Regions from separate parts of the Homo sapiens genome. Here all the other regions are linked to region 3. The links are contacts of gene promoters, found by promoter capture Hi-C in blood cells and fetal thymus (Javierre and others, 2016). All regions are on one chromosome and are shown on one strand. The core of a region is centred on a gene start or on the middle of the fragment in contact, and the rest is flanking DNA. Distances in the headings are between cores, read along the strand shown. Region 1 has its middle 83 kb from the start of TMEM215. Region 2 overlaps LOC105376017 (a long non-coding RNA gene). Region 3 holds the start of TMEM215 (transmembrane protein 215). Region 4 has its middle 27 kb from the start of TAF1L.

What was found. The method cuts DNA at HindIII sites, captures the fragments that hold promoters and counts their contacts. A CHiCAGO score of 5 or more calls a contact.
Region 1: a contact is called between a fragment that was not itself captured here and the fragment with the promoter of TMEM215 in region 3, in 1 of 17 cell types (M2 macrophages). The highest score is 5.4, in M2 macrophages.
Region 2: a fragment that was not itself captured here is called in contact with the fragment with the promoter of TMEM215 in region 3 in 1 of 17 cell types (M2 macrophages); the score reaches 5.8 in M2 macrophages.
Region 4: a fragment that was not itself captured here is called in contact with the fragment with the promoter of TMEM215 in region 3 in 3 of 17 cell types (M2 macrophages, M1 macrophages and M0 macrophages); the score reaches 11.2 in M2 macrophages.

Annotation. Positions count from the first base shown.
Region 1 is chr9:32,863,685-32,869,408 of GRCh38, reverse strand. No RefSeq gene overlaps it. Among named protein-coding and RNA genes, the nearest start is that of TMEM215, 83 kb to the right of the region's middle. The HindIII fragment of the contact is 3,619 bases long and covers 451-4,069 here.
Region 2 is chr9:32,675,363-32,680,995 of GRCh38, reverse strand. LOC105376017 (a long non-coding RNA gene) reads left to right here. Exons shown (of 7, transcript XR_929559.2): 6 at 321-387; 7 at 988-1,709. It also overlaps the pseudogene SNRPCP1. Among named protein-coding and RNA genes, the nearest start is that of TAF1L, 43 kb to the right of the region's middle. The HindIII fragment of the contact is 4,094 bases long and covers 1-3,750 here.
Region 3 is chr9:32,780,803-32,786,943 of GRCh38, reverse strand. TMEM215 (transmembrane protein 215) reads right to left here and starts at 3,404. Exons shown (of 2, transcript NM_212558.3): 1 at 3,139-3,404; 2 at 1-2,818. The coding sequence starts at 2,760. The coding sequence ends at 2,053. It overlaps LOC105376017 (a long non-coding RNA gene), which reads left to right and starts at 4,038. Exons shown (of 7, transcript XR_929559.2): 1 at 4,038-4,301. The HindIII fragment of the contact is 4,873 bases long and covers 1,590-6,141 here.
Region 4 is chr9:32,659,970-32,665,616 of GRCh38, reverse strand. No RefSeq gene overlaps it. Among named protein-coding and RNA genes, the nearest start is that of TAF1L, 27 kb to the right of the region's middle. The HindIII fragment of the contact is 2,601 bases long and covers 1,120-3,720 here.

The DNA.
Region 1 (5,724 bases), core at 1,011-3,510, 84 kb before region 3:
GGATTACGAGCCTCAATGTTGGGGAGTGATTTATTGTTTGTGAACCTCTGCTTCGTGGGTCATTGTTTCCCCATTGCTGTGGTTTGTGGGGCTATGGTTTTGCAGTGCGATGGTCTTTCTGTAGAGGTGCCTCTTCTATTGTTAGACTGATCTAAGTTAGCAAGTTTTCCTTATCATGAACGCTAGTAGGTCTTCCTGTAACTTCTCCCCACTGGTCTTTATGCTGAGTCTGACCTATCCTCGGCTGCCATGTTACCCACTGGATGCTTTCTATGTATCAGTTGTATTCCTTACTTCTGGCTACCCACCTAATTAGACTGGTAGGCATTATTACTCCCATTCTGCAGATAAAGAAATGGATTCAGAGAGATTCAGCAACTTGCTTGAGGTCACAGAGCCGATAAGTAGCCCAGTCATAATTTGAGTACCTCTCTGCTTGACCCAAAAGCTTGTACTCATACCACTGCACTGTGCTATTTTTAAAAACTTTGTTTATTTTTCTAAGTTAGAGACAAGGTGTCACTCTATTGCCCAGGCTGGTCTCGAGCTCCTGACCTCAAGCAGTCCTCCGGCCCCGACCTCCCAAAGTGCTGGGATTCAGATATGAACTATTGTTCTTGGCCTGAACATTTTTTTTTTTTGTGGTAAAATATACATGACATAACATTTACCATTTTAGCCGTTTTTAAGTCCACAGTTCAGTGGTGTTAAGCACATTTACATGGTTGTACAGCCATCAGCTATCTATTTTCTAAGCACTTAAAGTCAGCAGGGGCATTCAAGCCTTTTGGTAGTGGGCCACAAGATCATTAATTAAGATTGTTAACCTATGTGTGTGGGCCAATGCATTTTTATTCAGTAACAATGGCTTGGTGAACAATTATTTGGATGAAACTCAAATGCATAACCAAATTTAGGAGTTTTTGAATTATTTATTGTCTTCTGTCAGAACATTATAGTAGTCTCTTAACTTCAGGAAATTAATCAAGAACATCTCACTGTTATGTGGTTAATTACATTCAGTTTTAATTACAATTGCTAATTGATCCCAGCCTACCAGCTTGACATCTGGGTGCAGCAGGCCCACCAGGATAGTGGCAGGCAGGTAAATGCACTGGAGAGCTTCTGTGGGTTACCTCATTAGATAAGTTAGTGGTTGCTAAGAATCTGGGAAGCTCACCTTGGGGGCAACAGGTATTACCAAGAAGGGTGGGTATCTGGATTCCCTGAAAGTTTTCTCTTCAGTTTGAACATCCTTGTTTTTCTCCATGAAACATAGATTCAAAAGCCCTTTATCGAGTGCACTGCTCTCTAGCTGTTGACTAACAGTTCTCTCCAAGCATGCATCTAGAATGAAACCCAACACTCCTGCCACAATCCTGCCAGTACAGGGCAGATCGTGCTTCCCTAGCCTTGGACAACATGCCTCCACCCATGCTGCCATCTCTGGCAATGCTCTCATGTTGCTGGCTCATATTGAGCCTGTAGTTGGTCCAAACTCCAAATCTTCATATGTATTATTGCAACACCAACCTTCCATACTGATGTCCTTGTGAACTGGCCTTTTGGACTCAAGAGTAAGACTCTAAATCTTTCAAGGATGGACAATGTGTGCATTGCTCATGCCCATGGACCGCTCTAATATTAGTACCTTTCCTCTGAGTACAGATCTGGCCTCAGAATCCTTCCCAACACAGTGCTTCAGTCATCTCCAATCATCTCTCAGAGTTGGTACACAAGTACAAACCTAATAGTTTTCCTTGCTTTTCATTTACTTTATTATATCTTATTTTATATTTAACCCATCATGGCAAAGGATAAGTAGAGGTTCTTCTTAAGAACAAGAAGACGAGTGATGGCCAAAGGATTAGAGCTTGATAGAATTAATATCACAAATGTTTAGAGAACTTGAAAGTTGATTGCAGCAAAAGAACAATGGCTTTTATTAGAAAAAGTAATTATTCTCTTACAGTCTAAGGCCTTATTTTGTGCACAGATTATGCCAAAAACTTACCTATTAGAGGAAATCACAATTGCACTTCCCCACCGAGGTTCAGCTTCTTTCTGCTCCCACCACTCTTCCCTATTGCATCAGGTTGGCTTTAGATTCAGGAGAGGGAAGAGAGAAGGGGAGTAGGCCTATTTCCTCCTCTCTTATTCCAAAACACTCATACAGCAATATATTAATATCAGTTTTCAGTTCTTTCTTCTCTAAATAGAAATGGGTAGGGAATGGAAGAGGAAGATGCTGGGTTGACGGCAGTTTATCTTGGTTAAGAGAGAATGGGTTGGGTTGAAGTTTGGGGTTTTGCAAAATACAGCAACTAATCTTCCAGTTAGCAAAGGAGCCTGCAGTATCCTGCAGCTACATACTATTTCTTCACATTTGCAAAAGTCTCTGTGATTCACTGGGTTCAGCAAACTAAAGCATCTTTGCTTGATGAGTGTATAAAACATATATTATAGATGATAAAGCTGGACACAGATAATTGTTCTCTTAATATGCTCTACGTCAGGTATTTCAGACATCTCATCCTGCAGTTGGGAGGGGTTTCCTCATGTGCCCTTGACTTGGTGCCATTCTAATGTTGATAGAGAATATTTTCAGAGCCTGGTTTGCAAGAGCTCTCAGTTGTTAAATGTTCAGGTTGCTATTCATCTCTTCTTCCCTTTCTGCTTCTGACCAATGGGAAGAACACATAAGGAATAATAGCAAGAGAAGAAAGTAACACTTGTCCTCAGTATCAAGTCCCTGATATTCAAAGCAAATTCTGCTAAAAGCTGGATTGGAGAGCCAGATGCTGAAGTGCATGCTTCTACCACAGAGACCACATCTGAGTCATTAGACCCACATGCTCAGCCAGACGAGCGAGTGGGCATGTGAGCAGCTTGGCCTGCAGAGCAGACATAAAGTCACTTATCTGACCACCTACACACCAGGACTATGGGCCTACCTCACCCACCCCAGTTGTAGGTAGAACAAGAACAGCAGCTCTTCCCACAGAGGAGGAACTGCCCAGTGGTGCTTACCATGTGGGAGCAGTAATGGAAGAGATGGTCTTTACCACAGTGATGCCGCCCACCAGTAATGGTGACATAGTGAGTGTGAACTCCCACTCACCGATGATTCCTTTCCTTGGTGGGAAGTGAGTAAGGGGTAGGAGATACCAGAGAATTCCACTCTGAAGAGTGGGGAAAAGGCCCTTCATCTACCAGCTGGGACTTACTACAAGCATAAACATTCCTCCCCTCCCTGGCATCAGTTCTGAAAAGTACTGCTATTGTGCTATTCCTTGGAGAATGTCTTGCGAAGTAATTCGAGATGTGATGATTGGGGAAGCAAACTTAAGCTGAAAAGACAGTAGATATTTTCCCTCCCCTACTGCCTGTGTACTTGCATAAAGGATACTGGAATCTTGATTGGAGAAAAATGTTATGACTGGAAAGCTCCTCATGGATAACCTGCAAATCAATCTTTGGTTTATGCAAGGCAGCACCTGTGCCTCTGTGCTGATGGTGCAGATGTAGTAATGACCACGCTGAAATGCCAGCTGCAAGCCTGGGATTTAGGGAGCCTACTCTTTCCCTGGGGTGGGGGTTGGGTGAATCCAACTTAAAGAAAAACAAACATATGAGAGGTTGGCGTGGAGAGACTGAAAAGTCTGTGACTACTTGGCTTGTGAAAATTGCCTTTTGTTTCTGAAACAATATTATTTGTGAAGAAAATTCAACTCTCCCAGTGTAAGAACTCTTCTTTTTGTATTTGTATTTTATATTGGAATGCACTATGGCAATGATTGAAAAACACCGTGAATGAATTTGGGAATTAGGCCAAGTTAGGTTTAGGATCTAGCTCCATTACCTATCAGGGGGACCTTGGCTAAGTTACGTCACTTCTCTGAGCCTTGGTTTCCTCACTTAGAGTGAGGACAGTTATAGCCACCAGTCAGGGTTGTTGCACAAATTACAGATATTGAATGTAAAGTTCTGGCCCAGAATGAATTTTGATGACGATTATGTTTTTTTCTAAGTGCTTTACCCTGCATCACAGTGGGTGGATTTGCAAGCTTTATTTTTGCACAACACTAAATCCAGGGGGATATTTGTTTCTTTATGTGGTCAGAAAAACTAGGTCAGATTTTAAAGTGGGAATTAGGAGATCATGTCCCAGAGAAATCCTTTCTAATCTGTATTGGTTTTTCTAGAGAATTAGATCATCCAAACATCTGCAGATTCACTGGAGGCTGTATTGCACTGCCAGATGTGGTTATTGTGATGGAATACTGCCCAAAGGGAAGCTTGATGGATGTTCTGCTCAATGATAACATCTCTTTCAACTGGGGATTTTGGTAGGAGCCAGACATTTGAGTGGTAGGAGTCACAACCAGTGAACTCCTACAACTAAGCCCTTCTTTGATCAACATTCCTAAGGCTCATTGCCATGTGAATGCGTTATCTTGGAATCAATTATCCTGGAAGTGAATGCAATATCTTGTGTTATATCTTGTGGCATGGATGGGCAGGTTGGTATACCTAGACAGGGAAGACTAGAGGAAATAGGATTTTGAATGAGGTCCCTCTCCCCCAACTGGTGCCCAGAGGAGACCTGGCTAAGTAGAACATTCTGTTTAGAACATTGTTTGGCGTAGCTATAGGCCACAGCAAATAGTCCTGACAAGACGAGCAGTAGGTCTAATTAATTAATCTAAGAAACACTATGCTAGACACTGTAGGTAATAAAAATAAATGAGAAAGATTTTCTGCCTTCAAGAATGTCTTGGTCCATTGGGGAAGGCAAATAAGCAGAGTTACAGAACAGCGATAGAGTTCCTAGGGGTATGTCAGGTGCACAGGAGTGGCATCTAGCCCAGACTGGGGATGGGAAATGGGCTTTGGAAGGTTTCCTACTGGCGGTGAGCTGGGGAAGGGTAGACATTTCTTCTTCTTGTTTTTTTTGACAGTAGCCATTCTAACTGGAATGAGATGACATCTCATTGTGGTTTTGATTGGCATTTCCCTTCCTCTTCTCAAATATGATCAGCTACAGAGATTTGATTACCTGAACTCTGGGATACAAGTGGAGAACAGGCCAGGAGTTCAAGCCAGGCCAGCAGGTCAAGCCAGAATTTATGTGGGCACAAAATTGATGATGGCCCAGAAGGGGGGGTAATCCTCACTGAGTCCAACAGTATTAGGCTGGAGGTCTTGAAACCCCTTCTGCCTTGAATCGGGATTGGCACTACAACATTCCAGATAAGGTGCTTTGGTGGTAGCTGTGGGGATGTAAGGCAGACAGACTTGGATCCTGTTAGCTACTCTTCTGGATGACACTTTCCTTTTAGAAACACTTTCAGGTTCAGGAAGCAAATGAGGTGGAGCCGAATAGAACTCTAAGAAAACTGAACTCGAAGACTTTCTAAAAATACATGTGTGTGATACTATGCTTCTCTCTTCCTTCTCCTCCATGTTCTTCTCTTTCTTTTTCTTAATTTCTTCTTCTAACTCCTTCTTTTCCTTTTCTCTATTCATATTTGTTGTGGGTGCATATTGAGAAGTCAATTATTTATGATATGTAAGTTCCTCCTAAAAGATGTAGGGAGCTTTGTTTTTGTTGCAAAAGTTTATTATTTTTGTTCTGGAATTGATTAAAGTATCACCTTTCTAAGAACATTGGAGGCCTGAGTCCTGTTCTCAGCTCACATGGAGTCCTTTGGCATGTCCAGG
Region 2 (5,633 bases), core at 454-2,953, 100 kb after region 3:
TATTATTATTATTTCCCTTTACCAATTAGGAAACTGAAGCAAAAAAGGGGTTAAACAATTTATCTGTGGTGGCACAGTTAGTAACCTTTAGAGCTGGGAGTCAAATCCAGGCATTTTGCTTCCAGTATCTGTGCTTTAAGTGCTCCATGGCTTCACTGCTTACATTCATAAATAATAGATTATTCTTCCTTTAGGCTTGGGCTGGGGCTGCTTTCACATTTACAGTGCCATGGGGACTGGGGCAGGAAGAGAGTGACATAATTTCCACTGAAACCTTATGCTTGCTAATTTCCCACCTTTCCTCCCTTCTTCTCAAACAGATACCACGTCCTTGGGTTGGAGCCCCTTCTCTACTCACGTTGGACATAGAATCACTTTTCCAATCAGGTGAAGAATGAAGGATGCCCTGGAATGAATTTGTGAAGGGGTGTGTGTGTGTGTGTGTGTGTGTGTGTGTGTGTGTGTGAGAGAGAGAGAGAGGAGACAGAGAGAGAGAAAGTGTGTATGTGCATGGTGGGGAGTTCCAGGTAGACAGAACTGTGAATGTAAAGCCTCTATTTTTGAGTCCACAGAAAGCATCTATTTCATGAGTATTATTCTACATAATACATTGAACACATTGTGTTAACTCATTAAGGCAAAGTAAAATTGCAAATTTTGTTCTTTAAAAAAATTATGAACTAATAAACTTCGTTAAAATCTTTTCTCTGCACCTATCAGAATTTGTAGGAGGCAAGTGCACGCAGTCACTGTCATGTGACACTTCTCTTGTACAAACTCCTCTTCCACTTTCTGTACAGGCACATAATAAAATTCTCTTTTCTCCATAATATATGAAACTGGGAAAGTACTGGTGACATTTTGCAATATGGTATAACAACTGGTGAGTTTGGGAAGTAATGATGTAATTGAATTAGGCAAAACTGCTAAAATCCTTATTTTTTCCCATGGAATTCTGCCAACATTTCATTTTCTGTAATTCTGCAGAAGTAATATGAAACAAAATTGGACTTTTTCATCAACTGGAGAAATTGAAACATGTTTATTTAATTGTTATGGCATGCAAGATATTTTCTCAAGACTTCCAGTTAGAAGGGAATCAGAAATTTTGACCCTTTTTTGAAATTCTTGAAAAAGCCCTCAAATTGTAGGAAAATGAAAGTGGTAAGTAAATGCCCATTAAGTAATCATGAAGTGAGAGTTTCTAGAAAGTGAAGAATCTGGGTAAAACAAAGTTGTTCTTAATAACAGAGATTAGAGGCCACATGGCAATGATAGTAATAAAGCAGCAAGAATAATGCTGCCCCAGACACTCTCCGGCGGCTTCAGACAGGTGGACTGATCTGAGCACTGAGAACATTTAAGTGTGGGAAACATTTTACTCCAGCTTTAACTTCTTAATACAAGCTCCAGTTCCACGTGTCCCACTCATGCCAACTGCCAGCACCACCAAAGCCCTTAAAAGTTTCCTTGTCTTAATGGCTTCCACTCTCCCCTCCTCTCAGGCACCCATCATCCCTGACTCAAACCTGTAGACAAGCCAGACCAAGTTACGTCTCTTCAGAAAAGGAGCAGCTTGAACCATTCTACCCACTTCCAGCCTGGCTTCTAAATCTGGGGTCTCTTTGATAATACTCTCAGCCCAGTGGAGAGGAAAGTCTACTGGGGACAGCTAAAATTTGGCCTACCCTTCCTAGCACAGCCAGTCCAGAAGCCATGGGCCTGGAGATGGAATGAGTCCAAGTTCTTCCAAAGGCTTTTGTTTGAGAAACACTGGCTTAACTATGAAACAGCATTCTCTGCTGAGCTGAGAAATAGCCCCCCTGCCACCACCACCCAGGGAAGTCCATAGTAAGAACCCTTAGGAAATGGAAGAGGAACAGGTTAGAAACCTAGGTGATTTTCAGGGGCGCTAAGTGGAAATCTTATATTTTTGTGATTACAAAAAATGTTTCAGTCACATTCAAGTTCATGTGTAGTCAGTGCCGAAATGGAGACATGAGGTCTTAAACTGGGATGCATGAAATCCTTGAAATTGTACATAAAAGTTTGTGGTTGGGGGGTGTGGGTGGGGTATGTGTAAGCATTTTTTGAAAACTGAATCCATATCCTCCATTGATTTCTCAAAGGAGTCTGCAACACCTCCTTCACCTCCACTGCCACCAAAGTTAAGAACCAGTGACTTAAAGGGATTGTAGACTTTTCTTCAGCTGGAAAGAATCTTGGATAGTATTTAGTTCATTTTTGCTCCTTTAAAAATTTTTCTGACATAAAATTGAGTCTGATTAACATGGGCTGTTTTATAAATGTTGAAGTCTTCTAGGCTTTTTCTCTTCTGAAACACCTTCCAGATGGGTCTTGGAACATGCCTTGTGATGACATCAAGTAGGGCTGTGGTGATGGATCTACCCATGTAGATGCATCTATACGTGATCGTCTACCCGTGTGTGCCAGAAGGGCTGCTGAGGAGGTGGCAGGCACACTCCTGTCCTCTGGTTTATTTTCATGTGTTTTAACTTGGAGCACAAAGATAGGATTGTGGTTCAGAACTCCAAGCCCCTGCATTTCAAAGGGAACTAGTGAGATTCATCCTTATGAGAAGAACCTGGCAAGGCCCCACAAATGACTTCACTGTGATGATTTTCATGGCCCAACTTTACCCTGAATATTATTACACATTTATTTCTTTTGCTTTTATGCTTAAAGCAGCTCAACAATGCATAATTCAAGATGATTATGGCTTGCAAAACCCTGTTTTCTCAACACAAATACTTAGAAAAGAAATCAGCTTGATACTTGGCACCCTTCACTGCAGCTGGGGTCACTCCTCCCAAGTCAGGTGTTTTCATTCAGTGAATGGATGTTACATATGAAGAGCAGAATGAGAAAACCACAGAATTCCAATCTCCACAGGAGATTTTGCTGGGGTGAGATGGGAAGCAGAATAGTCAGTTGATTCTTTGAATGTCTAAGTTAGATGTGAGGCCTTCTTATTAAGTAGAGTAGAAAATACTTGGCAACCATTCGCTATAAGGGTGGAGGTGAGGGGAGAAGTTAAAGATGACTCCCAGGCTTCTGATTTGGTAACTGAGGCCCACGAATGGAAGAAACTTGGGGATATATAAATGGGTCCCATTATGGATATGTTGCATTTGGATCCAGGTGGGCAATTTGGTGTGCAGTTCAATATGAGGGTCTGAAGGAGTGGGTTGGGCTAGAGATAGGATTTGGGAGCTATCAGTAAACCTACAGCCTATGCACCACTGGGAGTTAAAGAAGAGGGTTTCAAAAAGGAGAGCAATGATGCCAAGTATCTCAGAGGAGTCAACTAAGAAAGAACAAACTATTCCCTGGGTTAAACAATGAGGAAGTCATTGATGACCTTAGGACAAGCAGTTTCTGTGAATTTGAAGAGGCAGAAGGAAAGTCATATCTGATGGAGGACCTCTCCAGAAGCCCAGATAAAAAGAAGACAAATTGGAGTGATAGCTAAAAGAGGAATGTAGAATGGTGAGAGTTTTACCTGTAATTTTTTAGATTTAAAGAGACTTGAATATGATGAGAAGAAACCAGAAGGAGGGGAAAGTTGAAGAAACAGGAGAGCAAATGAATCATTGATGGAACAAATTCCTGGATGGATATGGCGAAGAGTAAATTCAAGAGCGGTGACACAAGAACAGTGGTGACACTGGCCTTGACACATTCGTCCTCCAAGACACCCGGGAAGGAAAACAGAGATGCAGATAAGCTTGTGAGTGGGGAGTGGGAACTGAGGAAGCTCATCCCTGGTCATCTCAGTTTTATCAGTTAAAGAAAGTAGGGGTACTTAGGATAGGCTAGGGAGCATGAGAAGAATGGCAAAAGTTTGGACCTATCATGGAGAAGAGGGGAAAAGGGTAACTGACCAGAGACACAGATACAGATGGCTAGAAGCACTGAGGACCCAGATGAGACTGGAAATCCTAAATGTATAGTAGTAGCACCAGTCCACCTAGCTGTGTGTATTTCTCTGACACTTGGCTACCAGTGGGTAGCATGGAAGAAGATGGATATGTTTGGGTTAATCCAGGGTTGGAGATTTATAAGACAGGTTTAATAGAAGGGGGTAAAAGAGATAAGGAAGCTGGGTTTTCTCGGTAGAAAGTAGTTGAAGTGATAAGAATGGGACCTGGGCAGGAAAGGGAAGAAAATGAAACAGGAAAGGATGATACAAAACAGAAGACTAGGGTAAAATGAAGTATACAATTTGCTGAAGATCTTATGAAGATCAAAGAACAGGTATAATCAGAGTAGGGATGAAAAGTTCTAGAAAGACAGGATAGTATGGTCAGAGAATTCCTGGAATAAAATGTTGTGGTTTTTTTTTCCAAAACATTTTACCACTATTTCCATGTTATACTGTAAGTTTGAAAAATGTATTACAAGGTCATCTCCAGGCGTTGTGGAATGGAGTGGCCAACCTCCTTCAGAGCAACATGCCCAAGTCTTATTGTGTCTACTACAATATGTAGCTCTCCCATGACTTGCCATCTGTGAGAAAGGCCCACTTCAGTGGTAGGAAACACAAAGAGAATGTGAAAGACTACTACCAAAAATGGAGAGAAGAACAGTCAGACCCTGATTGACTAAACAATGGCTGCATTTCATCCAGGAAAGATACCTCCTACTCTATTCTCTGCTCCTCCTCTGCAGGGGCAATGATACCCCCTCCCCCCAGCCTTCCAGGTCCTCTTTGCCCAAGTATAATGCCAGCACCCCATATGCGAGCCCTCCCATGATGCCAATGATGGGCCCTCCTTTCCGTGGGATGATGCCAGTGGGACTTGCTCCTGGAATGAAGCCACTCATGGGAGGTCACATGTCAATGATAAGGCCTCCCGCCTGTCCCATGATGGTGCCTGCTTGGCCTAGAATGACTTGACCAGATGGTTAAGGATAGTGCAGAGGCCTTGTGTATCAGGTTTATATTACTTGTTCTACTTCACTAGGAGACCATGGTGCTGTGACTCTGGGTGTTTTCTTAACAGCGCGATAAGGAAGACTTTCTCTCTTTTCTTATCAAAGAGAGAATAGTTTTGGAGGGGAGAAGTGGGACCAAAAAAAAGTAGTTTTTATTTGTATTGTGAAATGTGAAAATAAAATTGTTAACTCTTTTCATAAAAAAGCAACTACAACAACCAAAAAACCCCAAAATGTATTACAAGTGAAAGTGTCTATGTTTGGTAACTTAAATTTGTTATTTTGTATTATCTGTGCCTTTGGCTCTCTTCCATATGATAATCCCATTCTCTTTTCATTGAACTAGGAAAATGTAGATCAGGTCTTAAGAGTATCATATTTCTAATGCTTTCACTATTTTATATGTACAGTGATATTATTATTATTATTTTAAATAAAAGCTCTTGAGAAAGAAGCTAGTGTTTTCTATTTCAGCTGTTTCAGCAGCTGCTGTAAAGATAAGCAAGCTTTCAATATACCTGCTTCCTCTGACTTTTCCTTTCCCCTAAATTTAAGTCGATTATAGGAAAAAATGTAACCTATAAAGCTGAGGAGGACAGATCACATCAATAGAACCCGCATGACAGGTGACTAATGGTAACAAAGTGGACCCATGGGATGATGGGGAAAGTTAG
Region 3 (6,141 bases), core at 2,155-4,654:
TGCATTACAATTATTAAAAGTTACTGTGATTTTAGGAAACTATCTCTCCCCATCCCAAATCCAAATGTCAATCACATTTAGTGCAAGGTTGTGTATTAGATTACTTTGAGTTATACCAACATTTTAAGTTTTCTCCTCAAAAATATTTTACTCTGATTATGTTCATTTTATTCTCAGGAATGCATTGTGTTGAATAATCTGCTTTCATACATCTACAAAATTCTTTTTTGAGTAGTAGCTGTGCAATGTATGTCACATAATTATCATAAATTTCATAACTTTGGCATGCATTTTGCTGTAACTCATTTCCTGGCAATATATAAAATGCCTTTGACATAACACCATAGAATATTTACACTGAAAATGAATGATAGAAATAATCAAGTGTAAATCAGTTCCCCCTCCCTTCACAGAGTAGGAAACTCAGGTGTAAGAAGATAAAATTTGCCCAAGATCATGCATCTCATTTCTGATATTTAAGCCCTACTAAAATAATTACATATTTTTGATCTTGAACTTGACTTGAAAATTATGATTTTTTAAAAATACCATGATTCTTAAGACAGAACAATTGCTATACTTAAGAAAGAATTGCAGAGTTGGAATTGAAATACACAAAACATATATGCCCAAATTTTTGTCCTCAATTCCCCTTTTGGGAGAAAGTGACTAAGACTATATGATCACTTAAAATGATCATTCTTTGAAGGATACAAAATACTTCTGATCTTCAAGATGAACTCTATCACCATTCCTATATATAATTCATATTTTTCTTCACCGGGGATCAAATGGCATTCTGCTTGATAGCCTTCTTATCTATTGCAGTTGAGCAAGTGAAATAGAAAGCACATTTTAGGATATCATTGTGATTTGTTGTTTTCCTCAGCAGCAAAAATGTATGAAATAAAGAGACTTTTATCATGTAATGTTCACTGATCAGGTGAGCTTAATAAAATCTAGGCTTCAGTTAAATTTAGTAGATGAGTTCTTGTTTCACTGGCATTTACAGTCTGTGAGAGGAGTTGAACAAATGTACAAATAATGACACTTCCAAAGGTTTAACCATTGCATTTCATACAAATTATGTGCAATGTTCAAGGCTAATGTGTAGACTTTATAGTTTTCAGATTTTAAAAGGTATGTAGGAATGGTAATTATCAGTACATGTCTGCCAATGTTAAAGACTTGGATATATATGTAAAATTCATTTTGTCTTGATGAAAACAAATTCCAATCTATGAAAGTATCATTTCAAATAATGTTGCACCTGGTAAGGAAATAATACATGAATGATAGTAAATGTTTAGAAAAAACCCATTTCAGATAAAGATGCAATAAATGGATTTAAACGAAGAGTTTAAGAAGTAACATAGCCATCTAAAAATGTTAACTTTTCACATAGCTGCTCACACTTATTTTACTTTATTAGAGACCATGATCTTGTCAGACAATAATGCCACAAGACTCAGTTACATAATCCAACTCTCTTTAACTACCCTTTTCCCAAAAACCATCCCATCTAAGGAGGGTTTAACTCTTGTATCTTGATTTTTTTTTCTTTCAGCAAATACCAAGTGTGATAAGCTTTTAACCAGGCAAAAATTACTTTATATAACGGATCATTAATTTTATTTTCAACTTATTCAAACATAAAGCAGCTCAGTTTCCCTGTGGTCAGCTCATGCATCATTTGATGCCTCACATCTGCAGCCCACTCTAGATTTATCTTGCTCTCAGCTGGTTCTGGATAGCACTTTTTGGGTTATTTTACAAAACATTTAACATTGTGTAAATTGTTAAGAAGCAACTGGAGTAGCTTCCTTTCCTACCCACTGCCTCTTCCAGTGTCCTTAACCCTCATCGCCCTTCCCTAAAATGTGTCCCCAACATGCCTATTTACATGACTCTCGGGTACCAGAGGTTATCACACCCATCACATACCAGGTCAATTTCTAACAGTGTGAAGGCTCTCCAAGCAGAGCAATTTGCTTCCACGGGGAGCTGGGCTTAGTCATATTCTATCAATCCAGCCACCTTTGTAGGCAGAGATTAGACGATGGTCTCGTGGTCCCACCTGCCTTGTATCTGATTGATATAACAACAGTATCTGTCATACGGGCTGTTCTGCTTGTAGGAGCAAACGATGATACTGTCCTGGGGCACAAAGAAGATGCTATCCTCAGGCTCAGGGCACTCAGATCTGTCCCTTGCTGAGCACTTGACGTCCAAGGCACTGTAGGTGAGGGAACTGCCCGAGGGGCAGTAGCCGTCCAGGTATCTGGACGTCTCCTCCTGATGCCCATTCTGGACGAGGCTCTGGCATTCTCCTTCCTCCGTGGGTGTGGGGCTGTTGATGGAGCTGGCCACGGACACCTCACCCTGGCTTTGTGGGGGAGGCTTCCCCCTGAGGCCCGCCTTCTTAGCCAGCTCATCTGAGCTCCCCTTGCCGGATTCTAGGTCTGAAGGGGTCCTCAGCAGCTCTACCACCTCCTTGTCTTTGGGTTTCCGGAAGCAGGGCAATTTGCGGACCCACAGCAGCTCGTTCTCTGGCCACTTGGTGCATCCCTCGGTTTTCCTGGCCAGGGCAATGGCTGCGATGCCTGGTAGGCAGATGGCTGGCCCGATGGCCAGGAGGGGGATGTTTCCCAAAGTCTCCCCTTTCATCCCAGAGACGGTGAACATGAAACCAAAGACGAGGAAGACACTGACCAGGGCCACCACCAGCCCAGTCCTCGGGTTAATGTCATCAGGCCGCATGTTTCACTCCATCCAGGTTGGGGGCTGCTTGCTGACCAGGGAGCAGCGTTCCTCTATTCTGTCAGAGATGAAACCACAGTGCGTTAAAAAAAAATCCAAGTCAAGCTCCCACCCATCAACTCTTGTCTTTCTCTTGCCCTTTGTCTCCGACTTGCTTCTTGACTTTCAGTCTTGATCTCTGTCTCTGTATCTCTCTTGCAATCTCTCTATCTCTCTCTCTGCGTTTCTCTTGCAATCTCTCCCTGTTTCTATTTCTACTCTTTCTCTCCGTCCCCTCTCCCTCCCTCCCTTTCTTGTGCCCTCCCTCTCTTCCTCTCACTATTGCAACCTCCGTCTCTCTCTCATATCAACACGCTCCGGCTGGGGTCAACGAGGTACCTGAGGTTTCCTGCCCTCTCCAGGAAGTAGGGAAAGAAGCCAGGCTGTCTCCTCAGAAGCCCCCACAGCAGCTGCCCCCTCGGCTCGCTCCCTTGGTTCTGGGAGGAAAGCCTGGTTTCCCCCACGGACTCTGCATCGGGGAGGTGGAACCTGGGAGAGCGGCTCTCCCAGCAGTGCCCGTCGGTCCCGGTGCTGTGCAAGCGGAGCCCGGCGCCAGCTCAGCGCGCAGAGCGCGGGGCGCGGGAGGAGGAGGGAGCACTGAGTCTGGGAAAGAGGGGACGCGGCGCGAGCCTGGCCTTGTTACATCACTGTCAGAGCAGGCTCAGAAACGCAGACAGACGCGCGGGGGCGCGAGGGGGTCAGCCCCAGAGGGAGGCCACCCGGCGGCAGGCGCTGCCCGGGGTCTCGTCGGGGCTGCTGGGAGCGGCCGGGGTTTGTGCCGCCGCCGTTCCGGAGGCTGAGCAGGGCGACCTGACCCGCTTCCGTGCCCGGGAAGGGTCTGGGGCGCGAGGCTGCCAGTGGCCGGAGTCGGAAACCAGGGTCGGTTTGCCCACGGGGCAGCCGTTGCAATATCCGAGCTCGGGCTCCCAGTCCGGGATCCGAGGAGTTAGGTGCCAGCTGGAGATGTCCCTCCGGGACCCGCACCCTTCTCCAGTTACAAATCCGGGTGACTGACGGCAGGCCCAGGGGCTCCCCGACCGCCCTTCTCTCAACCCCTCGACTCGGGGCGCGGGGGGGTGTGTGTCCCTCGGGGAGCCGGTGCCCGAGGACTGCTTTGGTCCCGGCTCTGGGCGGTGGCGGCGCGCGAAAGCGCTCTTGCAGCGGAGCGACTGCGCCGCGGGAGCGCACAGAACCAGCGCCCAGGCGGAGTGGGTTAGTGGTGAGGGGTGGGTGCCAGGCTAGTCCGGGCCTTGGGGGAGTCCCCGGAGTCCCCGTGGCTTTCCAGCTCCAGGCTCGGGAGAGGGTGACCTTGGAGCCGGGATTTCACTTCTACAGCGCTGTGGTGCCGGGGGGACAGGGAGAAGGGCTCCCTGGCCCCCAGTTCACGAGGAGAAGGGGCCTTGACCGGTCAGGACCACCACCCTACGACGCCGCTCAGCTCTGGGCGATTCTCTCCTCCCTTGCTGAAGCAGGCATTGAGAGCCTGCGTTCCTCCCGCTCTGGTAGGCAGGGGCAGATGGATTCCTCTGGCCCCGGGGGGCAAGACTGGCTTTGGCTGTGATTCTTCAACAGGGCTGCCCATTTAGGATAGAGGAGGGCGGTGGAGAACAGGTTGATGAGCGGTACATGCTTTCATGTCAAGACACTGATTTACTGGAAAGAATTTTCACATCCAGGCCTTCCCCAGTTAAACTAGCTGTATATTCCTGGGCAAGTGACTTAACCTCTCTGAGAATCAGTCGTCCTATCTGTAAAATGAGATTAATACCAAATATATGAGGAAACATTGTGAGGATTAAATAAACGTAAAGTTCCTAGCACAATGCTTGGTACATAGTCTGTGTACAAAAATTACACACACATGCACACACGTACACATGTATATGTATATATATTTGTCATCATAATTAGTGTCTTCATCATGTATGACAGGAGCCAAACAAATCATAAAGGCTGTGAGACTAAGGACTTTTTATCCACTAGGCAATGAAGAACGCTTGATGTATTTTAAGCAAAGATCAATACAAAAACATTCCAGTTTGACTGAAAGGGGCGGCAGGTGAGAGCATAGGTTGGAGCTGGTAAGTCTGGAAGCCGGGAGTCTTGTTCAGTAAGCTGAGAAGTTCAGTAAGCCGGGCAAGACATGATGTGGCCTTAACAATGTCGGGCTGGTAGAGGAGTTGGAAGGAAGCAGATCTGAGGGTATTTAAGGGTTGAGTGAAGTGTCTTGGAGCACAGTGAAGTGAGATGAAGGGAGGAGCCAAGGTCAACTCCCAACTTTCTCACTTTCAAAGGGGTGGATCAGGAAGCAGATCCTTCTCATTTTCCTCTCCATCATCTATTTTGTATCTTTTGTACTCATGACCATTAGACAGCTGCTGCACCTTTAGGCATAGAATCATTTAGGAGGGAAGAAAGGAGAAAATGCAAAGGGTAAAAGTGAGGTGCCAGTTCTTTGGCCACTTGTATGAGGACAATAATAATTTTCCTGGCAGCCCCCCCAAGTAGATAGGCATCTGCCTGTAATTGACCAGAGATGGATGAGCTTTGGGATACAAAGGTACCTGGGAAATTGTTGTTTATTTATTTACCAGATCCACTGATGGTCTGAAAAAAGGGTTTTGTTTAAAAGGAGCAGCATACTGCTCCTTTTAAATACTGGGGAAGCAGCTCGCTACGTGTGTTACAATTATTGAAAAGTTTTCCCTTCTTAAAACCGTTTCTTTTACTGACACCATTCTATCCTAGTTTTCTTCCTATCTCCCTGGTCACTTATTTGTAGGCTACTTTATAAACTCCTATTTTATTTATTTTTTATTTTAACAAACCCCTTAGATACTGATGTTCTGTGGGTTCTATTCTTGCTTCTCCCCTTTCTTGATTTCTCTTCTCTTTCTTCTCATTCTGTAATAGCCTCGAACAGCCTGAATAGGCTGATGACTCCCAAAACTCTCTCTTTAGCTTTGTCATTTTCCCTCAGCCCCAAATCTATAATATCCAACTGTCTGCTTGATATCTCTAATCTGGATGGTATGCAGACACCTCACACTTGCTAGGGACTTTAGACTTCAGGGATTTAGACTTTAGTGATTTTGATCTATGGGGATTTCAACATTAGGGATTGTGGGGTTTGGGATTGTGTCCTTTGGGATTATGTTCCAAACCCAACCTCATCATTCCTTCCATTTGCCAACTGAGAATATTTGCAATTGTTCTCTACTCCTTTCTCTCCCTAACAGCCTACGTCCAGTAAGTCACCCAAGTCATTATAGTTTTACCTCCTAAGTCCTTTGATTATCCCCTCTTATGGTGGTGACCCTAGGAAAATAACTTTACCTTCCT
Region 4 (5,647 bases), core at 1,171-3,670, 120 kb after region 3:
CAGCTTGCAGAACCATGAGCTAACTAAATGTCTTTTCTGTGTAAATTACCCAGTCTCAGGTATTTCTTCATAGCTGTGCGAGCTGACCATGGTATTTGCAGGCAAAGTGTGAATCAATTTCCGGTAATATCCTATGTGCCTCCTAGAGATACATTAAACTTTCAGACTGGATATAATATAGTGTGAGGATTTTAACTTTTTTTCACTATTGACCCTTACCCCAACACACACACACACCCTCTGAGGGAAGCGCCTGAGTCATTATGCATCAAGCAAAACTCAGGCTTGGTAAGCTGGAACTCCACAACAAGCTCCTCCCTGAAGTACTCAGAAGCACCTCTGCCCAGGGCTGAATCAGCACTGAATCTGATGATCTCTTGATGGCTGCTTGTCTTGCTGAATAGCTGACAGAGAGTGACAGAATTTTAGAGCTGGAAGAAGTCTTAGAGATCATCTGGTTTAACCCCACGTATTTGATGGATGAGGAGGCTGAGATTCAGAGACATATCACACCCCCAAAGTAACACAGCTCATTAGTTGCTGAATAAGAGCATCAGCTTGTCTCCTAGCTTCTGGTCATCTGTATTTTCTGTTTACCTTATTACCAGCTGTAAAATCTGCATTATGCTGTGTCTAAATCATTTAATGTAGGAATGGAAAGTTATTCTCTGTTCATTATGATCACAAAAGAATGTTTTTTCTCTTCTTCTTTTTTCTTCTTTCTTCTTCTTCTTCTTTTTTTTTTTTTTTTTAACAGGGTCTCTCTCTGTGTTGCCCAGGCTGGAGTGCAGTGGCGTGATCACTGCAGCCTAGACCTCCTGGGTTCAAGCAATTCTCCCATCTCAGCCTTTCGAGTAGCTGGGACCACAGGCATGTGCCACTACACCTGGCTAATGTTTTTATTTTTTGTGGAGATGGGGTCTCCGTATGTTGCCCAGCCTCAAAAAAAGGACTTTGAAGGAGAGTTATGATCCCTCAGAAATCAGTCCCTTCTAGTTATAAGTGAGGTTAGACATGCATTGGTCTCATTTTGAAAAAACAGATGGTGACAGGGATTATTTATTTATTTAGGTATCCAGCTGAAGGCATTAGCCTACATTTAAGTTTTTCTTAAAAGCTTTTTCCAGGTTTAGATCTTCACAAAGAAATAAAACCAAAACACTTATGTCTTAACCGAGCTGATTTACCCACTATCTTCCAAATACACTTTATATTTGTAGAATATCCTTTTCTCCCTAATCCAATACTTCTATCCTCACTGACCTCTACACAGTCACATCCTACATGATTTTCCAAACCCAGTTAAATTTCCTCTATTTTTCAAATGTACTCTTGACCATCTGCCTTGCCTGGAATAATATCTTCTCTTTTTTCTTTAACATTTTAAGAGAATTTAATAGTTATAATGTATTTTTATTTTGTTGTATGTTAGAAAATATATATTACTAGCATATCATACTCATTTCACAGCTTTTTTAAAAAGGTGATTTAGTTGAAGATTGTAGTAGTTCATTACTGCTACAAAACCTCAAAACGTCATGGCTTAATGTATCAATATTTCATTGAGCTCATGATTCTATGGGTCAGTAATTTAGGCTGGCGTTAGTTGGGCAGGTCTTTTGATTTCAGCTGGGTTCTTTCCTGTGTCTGGGTCAGCTGCAGGTTAATTAAGTGGTTCTGCCTCTGGGGGTTGGCTGGCTATCAGCAAGAGCCCCTCCCTACCTCTCCACAAGGCCCTTAAACCTCCATCAGATTTGCCATGCTTAACACAGCACCTGGTTCATACTAAGTGATATTATTATTGTTTTTAGCCTTTCCAGGAATATAGTTCACTTTTTCAATCTTTATACTAACACGAAAGTCAAACACAGACTAACATGAATCATAGCTCTTACCCCATACCGAATTTTCCTGAAGATTTAAAGGATACAGACAAGCACCAGGCATAGCCAAAATAATTTTTTTTCCTAGAGGAGACCGAAACCATCAGAAACTTGCAAAAATTTGCCTAAGTGTCCCTTTTTTTGTTTTTGCACATTGGATTTTGGTTTTGATTTTGAATTAATCTATGAGTTTTGAACAAAGCATATAGAAATTTTATTTACAAATAGAGCCATTTTGGTTTTTAAGCACTTTTATTTATACTCCATCAATTACACACTGATTGGAAGGTGTTTATGTGAGTACCCCTTATTCTCCAGCCAGCTACACTCCTTAAATCTGTACATTCAGGGTGTGTTTACACCTTGATCTTGGACTTCCCAGTTTCCAAAACTATGATAAATAACTGTCTTTTGTCTAAACCACTCACTCTATGGTAATTTGTTATAGCAGCCCAGCTGACTAAGACAGTCACTGTCTTGAAAACATTATGAGGCAATGTAGTGTAATGCTTACAAATAGGAGTTCTGGAGGCAGGAAAATCTGAGTTCAAAATCTGGCTCTGCCATTTACTAGCTGTATCATTTTGGACAAGTTACTTAACCTGTTGTGCCTCAATTTCTTCATCTGTGATATAGGAATAATAATAATGTCTACATCATGGGTTTATAAGTGTTCAAAGAAAGAATGCACACAAAGTGCTTAACACACTGCCTTATAAATGATAAGCACTCTATGAATGCAAACTTATAATGACAACAATAGTTATTAGCCTTACCCTAAAGAGGAGAGTTTTGGGAAGGTGGGACCAATAAACTGTGTGGCATAAAGGTCAAGTATGATAAGAACTGAAAAGTGCCAATATGTATAGCATCTAGAGGGTCTTTCATGGTACCAATGGATGGGGGTGAAGTCAAAGCCGTCATGCAGTGAGAGGCTGAGGAAATGGAAAGTTAAGAAGAGAAAGCAGGTGGGTAAGGTGTTGGTTCTGGCAAGAGAGTCTTTGAAGGAGGGATAATTGGGCAATATTGTATCTACTCTATACCCTTTACCTCTACATGCCATGGGTGCCAGGGTGCCAACTTACAAGGGCAGTATATCAGCAACTCCCCAGACCTGTGCAGGAGAGTCTGTCTTTTTTTCTGTCTAGGTTGGTGTGCTTCTAACCCTTTCTTGTAAGAAAAAATTTTAAAACCCAAACTTCTATTTCTGGCTTCTCTGTAGTTTCTTAAATTACAACTTTAAATATGTAAAAGTTTCCAGTATACATAGCAAGGTGATGCAATAAATAAATTAAAAAAGAAGCTGATTTGTGAGAAAGAGAGGAGATTAGCAACAAGCTAGAAATTCACAGCTGATGTGGCAATGAATAGTGGAGTCTTCAAGCATTTGGGGGAATCCAGTGCAGGTCAAGGATGGTGGATTCTGAAGTTTTAATATTGCATGCTAAAGTGCAAACCCATTTGGCACATGACCAAATATCAGTATGGATAAAATTCAGTAGCTGATGTTTATATTTTTCTTGCACTCATTGGAGGATTTGTCTGTGTAGCAATAAACTTTCCAAGACAGAATGGTAGGGAAGATGCTTGAATTTGTAATTTATTGTTATTCTACTTAAGCATGTGTTTTATGCCAGAAGTCATGCTTTATGCAAGACCTTTTTGAATAATTTCAGTTCACCAGTCAGAAGGAAGATAATTACTCAAGGGTAAGGACCATGGTTTCTACTTCCCTCCAACTAAGCTGAATGCTGCATCTTTACCTAAAAGAGTATCTGGATGTATACAGAGCCAAGGAGATTCTTAGTTCTCCCCATTGGGGATTCTTATGGAAGCTTTAGTAAGTTGTTGCTGTGGAAAAGTAGAATGGGCCCATATTGGAGTCACAAAGTCCAACATAAAATCCTAGCTCCATTATTTACTGTGTATGATATGGTTTGGCTGTGTCCCCAACCAAATCTCATGTTGAATTCCCATATGTTGTGGGAGGGACCCAGTGGAAGGTAATTGAATCATAAAGGTGGGTATTTCAGTGCTGTTCCTGTGAATAAGTCTCACGTGATCTGATGGCTTTATAAGGTGGAGTTTCCCTGCACAGGTTCTCTCTTTGCCTGCTGCCATCCATGTAAGACGTGATTTGCTCTTCCTTGTCTTCCACCATGATGGTGAGGCTTCCCCAGCCATGTGGAACTGTAAGTTCATTAAACCTCTTCCTTTAGTAAATTGCCCTGTCTCGGGTACATCTTTATTAGCAGTGTGAAAACAGACTAACACAGTAAATTCGTACCACAAGAGTGGGGGCACTGCTGAAAAGATACCCAAAAATGTGGAAGCAACTTTGGAACTGGGTAACAGGCAGAGATTAGAACAGTTTGGAGGGCTCAGAAGAAGACAGAAAAATGTGGAAAAGTTTGGAACTCCTAGAGACTTGTTGAATGGCTTTGACCAAAATGCTGTTAATGATATGGATAATGAAATCCAGGCTGAGGCAGTCTCAGATGGAGATGAGGAACTTGTTGGGAACTGGAGCAGAAGTGACTCTTGTTATGTTTTAGCAAAGAGACTTGCAGCATTTTGCCCCTGCCCTAGAGATTTGTGGGACTTTGAACTTGAGAGAAATGATTTAGGGTGGAAGAAATTTCTAAGCAGCAAAGCATTCAAGAGGTGACTTCGGTGCTGTTAAAGGCATTCAGTTTTATAAGGGAAGCAGAGCATAGAAGTTAAGAAAATTTGCAGCCTGACAATGCAATAGGAAAGAAAATCTTATTTTCTGAGAAATTCAAGCTGGCTACAGAAATTTGCATAAGTAACGAGGAGCTGAATGTTAATCCCCAAGACAATGGGGAAAATGTCTCCAGGGCATGTCAGAGGTCTTCACGGCAGCCGCTCTCATCACAGGCCCGGAGGACCTAGGAGGAAAAAATGGTTTAATGGGTCAGGCCCAGGGTCCCTGTGCTGTGTGCAGCCTACAGACTTGGTGCACTGCATCCCAGCCACTCCAGCCATGGCTGAAAGGGGTCAATGAAGAGCTTGGGCTGTGGCTTCAGAGCTTGGCAACTTCCACATGATGTTGAGTCTGTGAGTGCACAGAAGTCAAGAATTAGGGTTTGGGAACCTCCACCTAGATTTCAGATGTATGGAAACACCTGGATGACCAGGCAGAAGTTTGCTGCAGGGGTGGGGTGCTCATGGAGAACCTCTGCTAGGGCAGTGTGGAAGGGAAATGTTGGGTCAGAGTCCCCACACAAAGTCCCTACTGGGGCACCACCTAGTGGAGCTGTCCTCCAGACCCCAGAATGGTAGATCCATTGACAGCTTGCACTGTGTACCTGGAAAAGCCACAGACACAACACCAGCCCATGACAGCAGCCAGGAGGGAGGCTGTACCCTGAAAAGCCACAGGAGCAGAGTGGCCCAAGACTGTGGGAACCCACCTCTTGCATTAGCATGACTTGGATATGAGACATGGAGTCAAAGGAGATCATTTTGGAGCTTTAAGATTTGACTGTGCTGCTGGATTTCATACTTGCATGGAGCCTGCAGCCCCTTTGTTTTGGCCAATTTCTGCCATTTGGGACAGCTGTATTTACCCAATGCCTGTACCCCCACTGTATCTAGGAAGTAACCAACCTGCTTTTGATTTCACAGGCCCATAGGTGGAAGGGACTTGCCCTGTCTTGGATGAAATTTTGGACTATGGACTTTTGAGTTAATGCTGAAATGAGTTAAGACTTTGGGGTGATCTTGGGAAGGCATGATTGGTT